2 separate regions of the Homo sapiens genome follow, and region 1 is linked to region 2. Evidence: promoter capture Hi-C in human tissues and cell types (Jung and others, 2019). All regions are on one chromosome and are shown on one strand. Each heading gives the region's core, a stretch centred on a gene start or on the middle of the fragment in contact. The rest is flanking DNA. Distances are from core to core; before and after follow the strand shown.

Region 1 (4,374 bases), core at 26-2,525, 1.3 Mb before region 2:
AACAAGGACTTAGTTTTGTTCATGTTTATATCACCAGTGCCTCAAAAGCACCTGGTATGCAGTAGATGATCAATTATTATGTGTTGAATTTATGAATGTATCACTCTTAAGAGACAGAAAGAATCCCAGTTCAGAAGTGCTAAGGGGCTATGTCCAAAGTTGTCCGGGATGTAAGAGACAAAACCACAACTCACACTTAGGTCTTCTTACTTTATTGGTCTTTCCATTCCTCTCTCCTACCCTTTTCTGTAGAAACAGAATAAGGAGCAAAACACACTCCTCTGAAAGTTGAAAGTGGTGAAAGAGAACTGAGATCTACTAAGCATTAAAGCTGTGTCAGATATTACACCAACATTCTCTAAAGTCCTAAGAGGTACAGTTACTACCCTCAATTTACAGATGAGGGAAATAAAGCTTAGATGGACTAATTCACTTATTCATGATCACTCAGCAAATCACTGGCAGAGCCTTTGTTCCAGCCCTGGCTTGTATCTGGTAATAATGCCCTTACTTAGGGGATGCTGACCATGGACATTCGACGAAACCCTTTTCTGGGCTTTCATTAACCTAGGAGTAAAAGAAAGGGGATAGCTTCACTTTAGATGATAGTGAAATTTTCTAAAATTTATAACACAATCCCCCCTTGCCTCATGCCTCTACGCTTTTGTTTACTATGATGGTATTTAAAGCTAAAACAAAACCCAGAAATCTTTGGGTTTTGAAAGCAATCTGTTAAAAACTATAATAATCCATGTATCCTTAGACTTGAGAGCATTTCTAAATGAAGCTTGCAATCTGATCATTTGGTGATGTTTGGATTATGTGGTTATAGTAGGATTTAAAATGCCTTTTCACACAGATACTATAGAAAGGTGAGCAGCAGGTTGCACACAGTGACAAATTAGCGGTGCTCTTAGCCAGGCTGTTTAAATTATTTTTAGGCAGGAGACATACTGTACACACCAGGTTTTAGATGCAAGTAATTACTATGAAATGTTACCTCACTCTTTGCCTGTAGTTAATCTGAGCTCTCCCTATTTCTCTCTCTTTCCTTCCAGTTCTATTCCCTAATACTTCATGTATTATCTTCCTTGCAAGTTCCCTTTTTTCTGTGAAATATTTTCTTGTTATATTGGCAAGGATACTTATCCTTACAAAACTGGTAGTGGCTGCAGCAGCCATGCCCAGAGCTTACTATGCAGAGACTAGTGCCTATATCGGAAGTTGAGACAGGTTGCTATACCAAACCTATCTTTAGTTCACTACCTGTTTGCTTCATTAGGTAGAAGCTTTCTCCTAGACTTAGGAGAAGCAAAAACAAACACAAAAAAACAAGCAAACAAAAACAATGCTCCTTTATTTAAAGGAGCATTTTCTCAGCATCTGAACCAATTATACATGCCTACTTTCCATATCTAAATTTATAGCATAGCACAATGAGAACTCATATTAAATGGAAGACCTTGAGGCTCTGCAGTATCCTGGATCATCTAACAAAGTTTTTTTATATATTTATATGTGTATATATATCTATACACACATACACACAGATACACCCAAACACTATACATACTAAGCATTTAACATATTTGAGGAAGTTAACTTTATCACATCACAGTTCACGTTTGTATAACTTCCTAAGAAAAGGTGGAATCTATTACAAAACAAACAGAAAAAGATGATTTAAAAAGCCCTAAGAGTTGGAGCTGTTTTTATTCCTTCATAGAGCCTGCATTCTAATAACCATTTAATATAACCTCTACCTTGATTTGTACATGGACTAAAAAGGTATGACCACTGGGGCTTAGCACTGAAGCAAGAAGAAACAAAAAGAGGTTGAAGGAACACTACTTACATAAGATTTCCAGATGTGGGATTACTGTGTATTCAGATTCCTTACACAATATTAATAGCACATATAAAATAATTAAAATTTCTGGGAACTTTTAAGCTGTTTGATGTATCAAGCAGGGTCTACCTTCATGTTATAGTGATTGCCAGGTTTCAGATGCTGGGTAGGTGTCAGGTGGATACTTCATTCATGATGCCAATAGAGTGTCAAATAAATATGGATTTTTTAACTATGAGATAATATATTATCATACTTCTGCACCCTCTTCCAATTATGAGACACAGTTTTCTTTGATGTCACTCAGGCTCAGAAAGTTGAACACCCTTCACTTGATGTGATTTGGCAATAATTGTCTTTGATGCTGAGAAAACATGCACAGTATGAAGCAGAAAAATACAGCTGGGTGAGGTGGCTCATGCCTGTAATCCCAGCATTTTAGGAGGCCAAGGCAGGAGGATCAGTTGAACCCAGGAGTTGGAGACCAGCCTGGATAACATAGTGAGACCCTGTATCTACAAAAAAATTTAAAAATTAGCCAGGCATGGTGGGGCGTGCTTGTAGTCCCAGCTACTTGGGAGGCTGACATGGGAGGATTGCCTGAGCCAGGCGATTGAGGCTACAGTGAGCTGTGATTGTGTCACTGCACTCCAGCCTGGGTGACAGACAGAGACTCTGTCTCAAAATTCAATCAATCAATAAAATAAAATAGAAAAATGCAACCTGACAATCGTTTTTTTAAAAAACAAAACGGGCTGAGCACGGTGGCTCATTCCTGTAATGCCAACACTTTGGGAGGCTGAGGCAGGTGGATCACTTGAGGTCAGGAGTTCAAGACCAGCCTGGCCAACGTGGTGAAACCGTGTCTCTACTAAAAAAAAAAAAAAAAAAAAAAAAAAAAAAAATACAGAAATTAGCCAGGCATGGTGGCAGATGCCTGTAATCCCAGCTACTTGGGAGGCTGAGGCAGGAGAATCGCTGGAACCCGGGAGGCAGAGGTTGCAGTGAGCCGAGATCATGCCACTGCACTCCAGCCTGGGCAACACAGCGCGACTCCATCTCAAAAATAAAATAAAATACAAAACAAAGTACATAACAGTCATGAACATAAAATGTGCCTACCTGCACAGACTCTGGGAGAGTTAAAGCAAGGTAGAAGGAAGATGTAACTGAACACTCCCCACCTCCACTATCAGAGCTATGGTCCAGACTTCCATTGTCTGTAAGCTGGATTATTGCCAGGCCTCCTGACTGGAGTCTCAGCTTTCCTCCTTGCTGTCTTCTATTACAAACATAGGAGCCAGAGGGAGCGTATGAAAATGTAAGTCCAGTTATCTGATTCCTCTGCTCAGACTCTTCCAATGGCTTCCCATTCACCCAGAGTAAAAGCCAAATCCCGATGATGATGAAGAAAGCTCACATAACCTGTGTACCCTCTTCCTCCTCTGCCCTTGCTCAGTCCATTCCTACCACAGGGGCCCAGCCACTTTGCCTCAGCCTCACCAGGTGGGCTCCCACCTCAGGCCTTTCACACTTGCTGCATCCTCTGCCAAGCCCCTCTCTCTGTAATGTGCTCCCTCACCTCCTTCAGGTCTTTGCTCAAATTTCACCTTTTGGTGAAGCCTTCTCTAACTACCTTACTTACACTTTAAAAAAACAGGGAAATCAGTAGTAACAAAACATTACTTAGCATTCAAAGTCCTCAGATGATAATATAATATGAATTTCACTCTGAGTAGCTACAATGTTTTCAATATGCTAAGTTTAACCCTAAGAAGGGCAAAGGGCAATAAAACTTAAAGAGTCAGAGGACAAGTAGATTTCTCCTTAGAATCACACACAGGGTACGTTTCCTGGGCTACTCCACTGAACAGCTTTCAGTTCAATTGAACTCTAAATATTTACCAATTGCCTGTTCTAAGGGACTTGATGCAGGGGTTACTGAATTGGGTAAGAAAGGATGAGACCCAGATTTTAAGGTTAAGATGATTTATCAGAGGGGATTACTCAAATACTCAAAGGAAATGACCAAAAATAGATAAAATAGGGTGTTGCTCATAAGTGAAGTATAGCAAAGTGTTTTCATTTTGACCAATTGCTACAAAATCAATAGAACTGTTGACTTGGAATTAGATCATGGTTAATTTGATTGGATCATGACAGTGACAAAAACTGCAAGATTTTCTGTCCAGGGTTCTGACACAGTCTATTGAATTAAATGCGGTTCAAATTCAAAGTACCTTCATATTATTCAAAGTTTCGCATAGATGGTGCAATATTATGAAAGGTAAAATGACTGCTCCTAGCTTTGTATGCACTGTGATTAGTGAAAGCATTATGACACTTTTTTTTTAGTATCTAAATATACCATACCATAAAATGGTAAGTTTTAAAAATAGACTTGATTATTACCAAGCAGTGGCTGGTGAGGGTAGAAGAGGTTGTCTGGAGTTGATTAAACAGTGGTAGGGGTTCTGGGTTACATGGGACAGATATAGAATACATCTGCATTTGTATAAATTAAA
Region 2 (5,089 bases), core at 1,465-3,964:
ACTAAAACCAGTCAAAGACATTACAAGAAAAGTACAGACCAGTATTTCTGACTAACATAGATGCAAAAATCCTTAATAAAATCTCAGCACGTTGAATCCAACAAAATTCCTTTCTAAAGATTGTTAATACTACCCATTTCAGATTAAAGATTAGAGAATGGAGATTAAATGCCTATCATTTATTTAATGTTTTTTTATCTTTTTTTTGAGATGGAATTTCACTCTTGTTGCCCAGGCTGGAGTGCAATGGCGCAATCTTGGCTCACTGCCAACTTCTGCCTCCCAGGTTCAAGCAATTCTCTCACCTCAGCTTCTCAAGTAGCTGGGATTACAGACATTCGCCACCATGCCTGGCTAATTTTTTGTATTTAGTAGAGATGGGGTTTCACCACGTTGGTCAGGCTGGTCTTGAACTCCTGACCTCAGATGATCTACCCACCTCAACCTCCCAAGGTGCTGAGATTACAGGTGTGAGCCACCGCGCCTGGCCTATTTCCTAGGTAATCTTTTTTTTTTTTTTTTTTTTTTTTTTTTTGAGATGGAGTCTCTCGCTCTGTCATCAGGCTGAAGTGCAGTGGCACAATCTTGGCTCACTGCAACCTCTGCCTCCCGGGTTCAAGCAATTATTCTGCCTCAGCCTCCCAAGTAGCTGGGACTACAGGCGCACACCACCACGCCCAGCTAATTTTTGTATTTTTAGTAGAGATGGGGTTTTACCATGTTGGCCAGGATGGTCTCGATCTCTTGACCTTGTGATCCAGCCGCCTCTGCCTCCCAAAGTGCTGGGATTACAGGCATGAGCCACCACATCCAGCCAATATTTTTTGCATTTTTATTAGAGATGGGGTTTCACCATGTTGACCAGGCTGGTCACGAGCTCCAGACCTCAAGTGATCTGCCTGCCTCACATTCCCAAGGTGCTGGGATTACAGCCATGAGCCACACCATGCCTGGCCTGGTGTCCACTGTGTTTGATGGATGATTGAACTGAAAAAAAAAAAATTTTTTTTTTTTGAGACAGGGTCTCTGCTCTGTTGCCCAGACTGGAGTGCAGTGACACCATTTCGGCACTTCGGCTCACTGTAGCCTCAACCTCCCTGGCTCAGTGATCCTCCCACCTCAGCCTCCTGAGTAGCTGGGACTACAGCCTGTACCACCACACCCGGCAGGGTCTCACTATGTTACCCAGACTGATGTTGAACCTTGGGGCTCAAGAGATCCTCCGCCTAGGCCTCCTAAAGTGTTGAGATTACAGGTATGAGTTATCCCTGCTGGCCTAAACTGAAATTTGTTCAGATAATTCAAAGATCCTAATCAAAGGAGTGCACTTGCAGCTGGCTTGAAGCCCTGGAGTAGTAGTATGTCCAGCCACAGAGCCAGGCTGCAGTGACGGTAATGCTTCAGGAATCTATTCAATTTATTTCCTTAGCTCTAAAATTATGGCAGGCCAGGCACTGTGGCTCATACCTGTAATCCCTCAACTGTGTGAGGCCAAGGCAGGAGGAGTTGGATACCAGCCCGGGCAACATAGGGAGGTCTTGTCTTTACAAAATAATTAGCCTGGCATGGTGGTGCACACCTGTAGTCCCAACTATTCGGGAGGCTGTGGTGGGAGTATCACTTGAGTCCAACAGGTCGAATCTGCAGTGAGTGATCGCACCACTGCACTCCAGCCTAGGCGACAGAGGTCAAAAACAAAACAAAAGAAAACAAACAAAAAAAACATAGCAAACATCCAGAAGACTGTGTAGAGCAATGAATGTCTCTCAAGCCAGTGATCTTTTTCTCTTCATTTTTCACATCAGGTGGGTAGTGTGCCCACTTCGTAACAAGGTTTGAGGGAGGCACATTTGACACAAGAGCATGAAAACCCAATCACACTTATGACTTACAAAAGGATCAAGTCAGTGATCTTTAAGCTGTGGGCCATTAAATACATTTTGTGAGCCGAGTGCAGTGGCTCAGGCCTGTAACCCCAGCACTATGGGAGGTGGAGGTGGGAGGATCACTTGAGTCCAGGAGTTCAAGACCAGCCTTGGGCAACATACTGGGAACTCCCATCTCTATTAAATTTTTTTTTTTTAATTTTGTGGATTACAACCATTTCAAAAACTAAAATAAGCGTAAATGTATCAAAATGCAGCTTACATAGCGAGGATAAATGCTGTTTTGTCAATCTGTTGTTTCAAGTTTTTTATGTGTGGATTGGGTCACCTTGTAACAGTGACTTACCTTTATGGGTCACGGTTGAAAACATTTCCGGTGCAGTGGCTGACTGTAATCCCAGCACTTTGGGAGGCCGAGGCTGGAAGATCACTTGAAGCCAGAAGCCAAGAGTTCAAGACCTGCCTGGGCAACACGGCGACACCCCGTCTCTATTTAAAAAGAAAAAAAAAAGTTTCCAAGGCACTGAGATGCCAGGAACCCGAGGTGTGTGTCCAGTAGGGGAGGGAGCAAATTGGGCGTTTGGAAAAAGTCCCACGCCTGGAAAGGAATACACAGTGGGGGGGTGGGGGGCGGGGCACATCGACTACTTCAAGGCACACTCCCACGGTTCAGAAAACCGATTGGCTAAAACTGGGAAAGTCCCGCCCACAACGCTCACTGGCCAATGGCTGCGTGAAATCAGTGCGAAGTGGGCGGGATAGAGAGCGTGGGCGGGGGGGCTAGCCTCGTGCGGGCTCCTTAAGTAGCGGCTGCGTGGCTTCCCTGGCACGCTACTCTTACGACGTCACGGTCAGGTGGTGCAGAGCTGGACGGCAACGACGTCGGACGCGCCCCTTCTTGGAACAATGTCCCACCACGGAGGAGCTCCCAAGGCCTCTACGTGGGTCGTTGCTAGTCGGCGAAGCTCGACAGTGTCCCGAGCGCCAGAGAGGAGGCCGGCGGAGGAGTTGAATCGAACAGGTCCTGAGGGATATAGTGTCGGCAGAGGTGGTCGCTGGAGAGGCACCTCTAGGCCCCCGGAGGCCGTGGCCGCTGGTCACGAGGAACTGCCGCTGTGTTTTGCTTTGAAGAGCCACTTTGTTGGCGCGGTAATCGGTGAGAATGGGAGTGGCTGGCAGGGCAGGATAGGTGGGGCCAGGGGCGGAGCCTGGGCGAAGGCATTTCCTCCCCACTGCCTCACCTCCAATCAGCTGCCACCTAGTGAGGTTCAGGTCTCTCCCAGAGCTATTTGTAAAACCTGGGGATAGAGTATAATTTAATCTGGCCGGGCGCGTTGGCTCACGCCTGTAATCCCAGTATTTTGGGAGGCCGAGGCGGGCGGATCACCCCAGGTCAGGAATTCGAGACCAGCTTGGCCAACATGGCAAAACCCTGTCTCTACTAAAAATATATATATTAAAAAAAATAGCTGGGCGTGGTGGCGCGCGCCTGTAATCCCAGATACTCCGGAGGCTGAGGCAGGAGAATGGCTTGAACCCGGCGGCAGAAGTTGGCAGTGAGCTGAGATCGCGCCACTGCACTCCAGCCTAGGTGACAGAGCAAGACTCCGTCTCAATTAAAAAAAAAAAAAAAAAGTAATTTAATCCACCTTTTGGTGTTTATACAGACAATGTATTTGGGAGAGCAACTCCTAGAAGACTTATGAAATCTTAGGGCTGAAGAGGGATGCTTAGAACAGGCCTTTTAACAGACAGCTAACCCCAGAATGAAAAACAAAACTTAATCAGTCTTTCTATGAGTACCATTTAGAGCCAGAAATCAAAGAAAAGCTATAAGGTCATTGTAGGGCTGCCTAGAGCAGTTGTATCTTGCTTTTAGTTTCCTTAATTTTTAAAAAGTTAAAAACTTTTCTTACTACATCTTGAGTGTTAACATTCAATTCTGAATTTTTAATTTTTTTCTTTCTTTTGATTTTTTTTTTTTTTGAGGCAGCTCTGTGGCCCCAGCTGGAGTGCAGTGTGGCGTGATCTCGGCTCACTACAACTTCCACCTCCCGGGCTCAAGCGATTCTAGCACCTCAGCCTCCCTAGTAGCTGAAATTACGTGCGCCACCACACCTGGCTAATTTTTGTGTTTTTAGTAAAGATGAGGTTTCACCATATTACCCAGGATGGTCTCGAACTCCTGTGGATCCACCCACCTCGGCCTCCCAAAGTGCTGAGATTACAGGCGTAAGCCCGGCCCATTTCTGAATTTTTTTGAAAAGCATTTAAAAATGATTAGAATGATTACCCCATTGATTGCCATTAAGCCCGAGTATAAATTGCCACATTTTACCTATTAGGTGTATTTCACCCTTTTTAAAACCTGAGAAAAATGAATAGATGGAGGCTGCTACAAAATAGTGCATTGTAAGACTAATTGCTGTACTACCCAGAGACTCATTGGCCTTTCAGAAGGCTTGGGCTCAGATCTGAAGAATGATGCTCCAAGAAAGAAAGCCACTAGGTTTGCAATAAAAATCACTTAAGTTAATACTTAGCAGATGAAAGGGCACTGTGCTACAGAGCACTCACTTGATGTTGGATCTGGATCCATCTTTTTTATTGTAAAAAATGAAATACCCTCTTTTAAACGTATATCACAATACTAATAATAAGCACAATGTTGTATCCCAGATCTCTGGAACTTGCATGACTAAAACTGTATACTCATTGAACAGCTCCCCATTTTTTCCTGCCCCATCCCAGGGACCCACCATTTACATTGTTTCTGAGTTAGATTACTTTAGGTAATCCATATAAGTAGAATCATGCAGTAATTGTCTTTGTAATTGGCTCATTTCTCTAAGAATAATATCCTCCAGGCTTACCCATTTTGTAGCATGAGACAGGATTTTTTTCCTTACTAAGGCTGAATGGTATTCCATTATTAAGTATATACCTTACTTTATCTATTAATCAGTCTATGATAAATGGGTAGCTTCCACCTTTTGATTTCAGTAGTGTTATTATGAAAATGGAAGTGCAATATATCTTTGAGACTCAGCTTTAAATTCTTTTGGATGTATACCCCAAGTGAGACTGCTGGATCATATGTTAATTCTGTTTTTAATTTTTTAGTTAATCTATACTGTTTTCCATAGTGGCAGCACCATTTTCAATCCCACCAACAGTACACAGGGGTTCCAATTTCTCCACAT

The links. Contacts are between HindIII fragments. The study calls those that stand out against the background at their distance.
Region 1: a fragment that was not itself captured here is called in contact with the fragment with the promoter of DDX43 in region 2 in 1 of the 25 tissues and cell types used here (lymphoblastoid cells).

Annotation. Positions count from the first base shown.
Region 1 is chr6:72,077,353-72,081,726 of GRCh38, forward strand. The region is part of intron 2 of RIMS1 (regulating synaptic membrane exocytosis 1); the gene reads left to right. Among named protein-coding and RNA genes, the nearest start is that of RIMS1, 190 kb to the left of the region's middle. The HindIII fragment of the contact is 3,441 bases long and covers 1-2,996 here.
Region 2 is chr6:73,392,114-73,397,202 of GRCh38, forward strand. DDX43 (DEAD-box helicase 43) reads left to right here and starts at 2,715. Exons shown (of 17, transcript NM_018665.3): 1 at 2,715-3,042. The coding sequence starts at 2,793. LOC124901538 (small nucleolar RNA U13) reads right to left here and starts at 1,900; the gene lies at 1,800-1,900. It also overlaps a transcript of OOEP not described here. RefSeq lists an enhancer at 2,332-2,832. The HindIII fragment of the contact is 17,001 bases long and covers 1-5,089 here.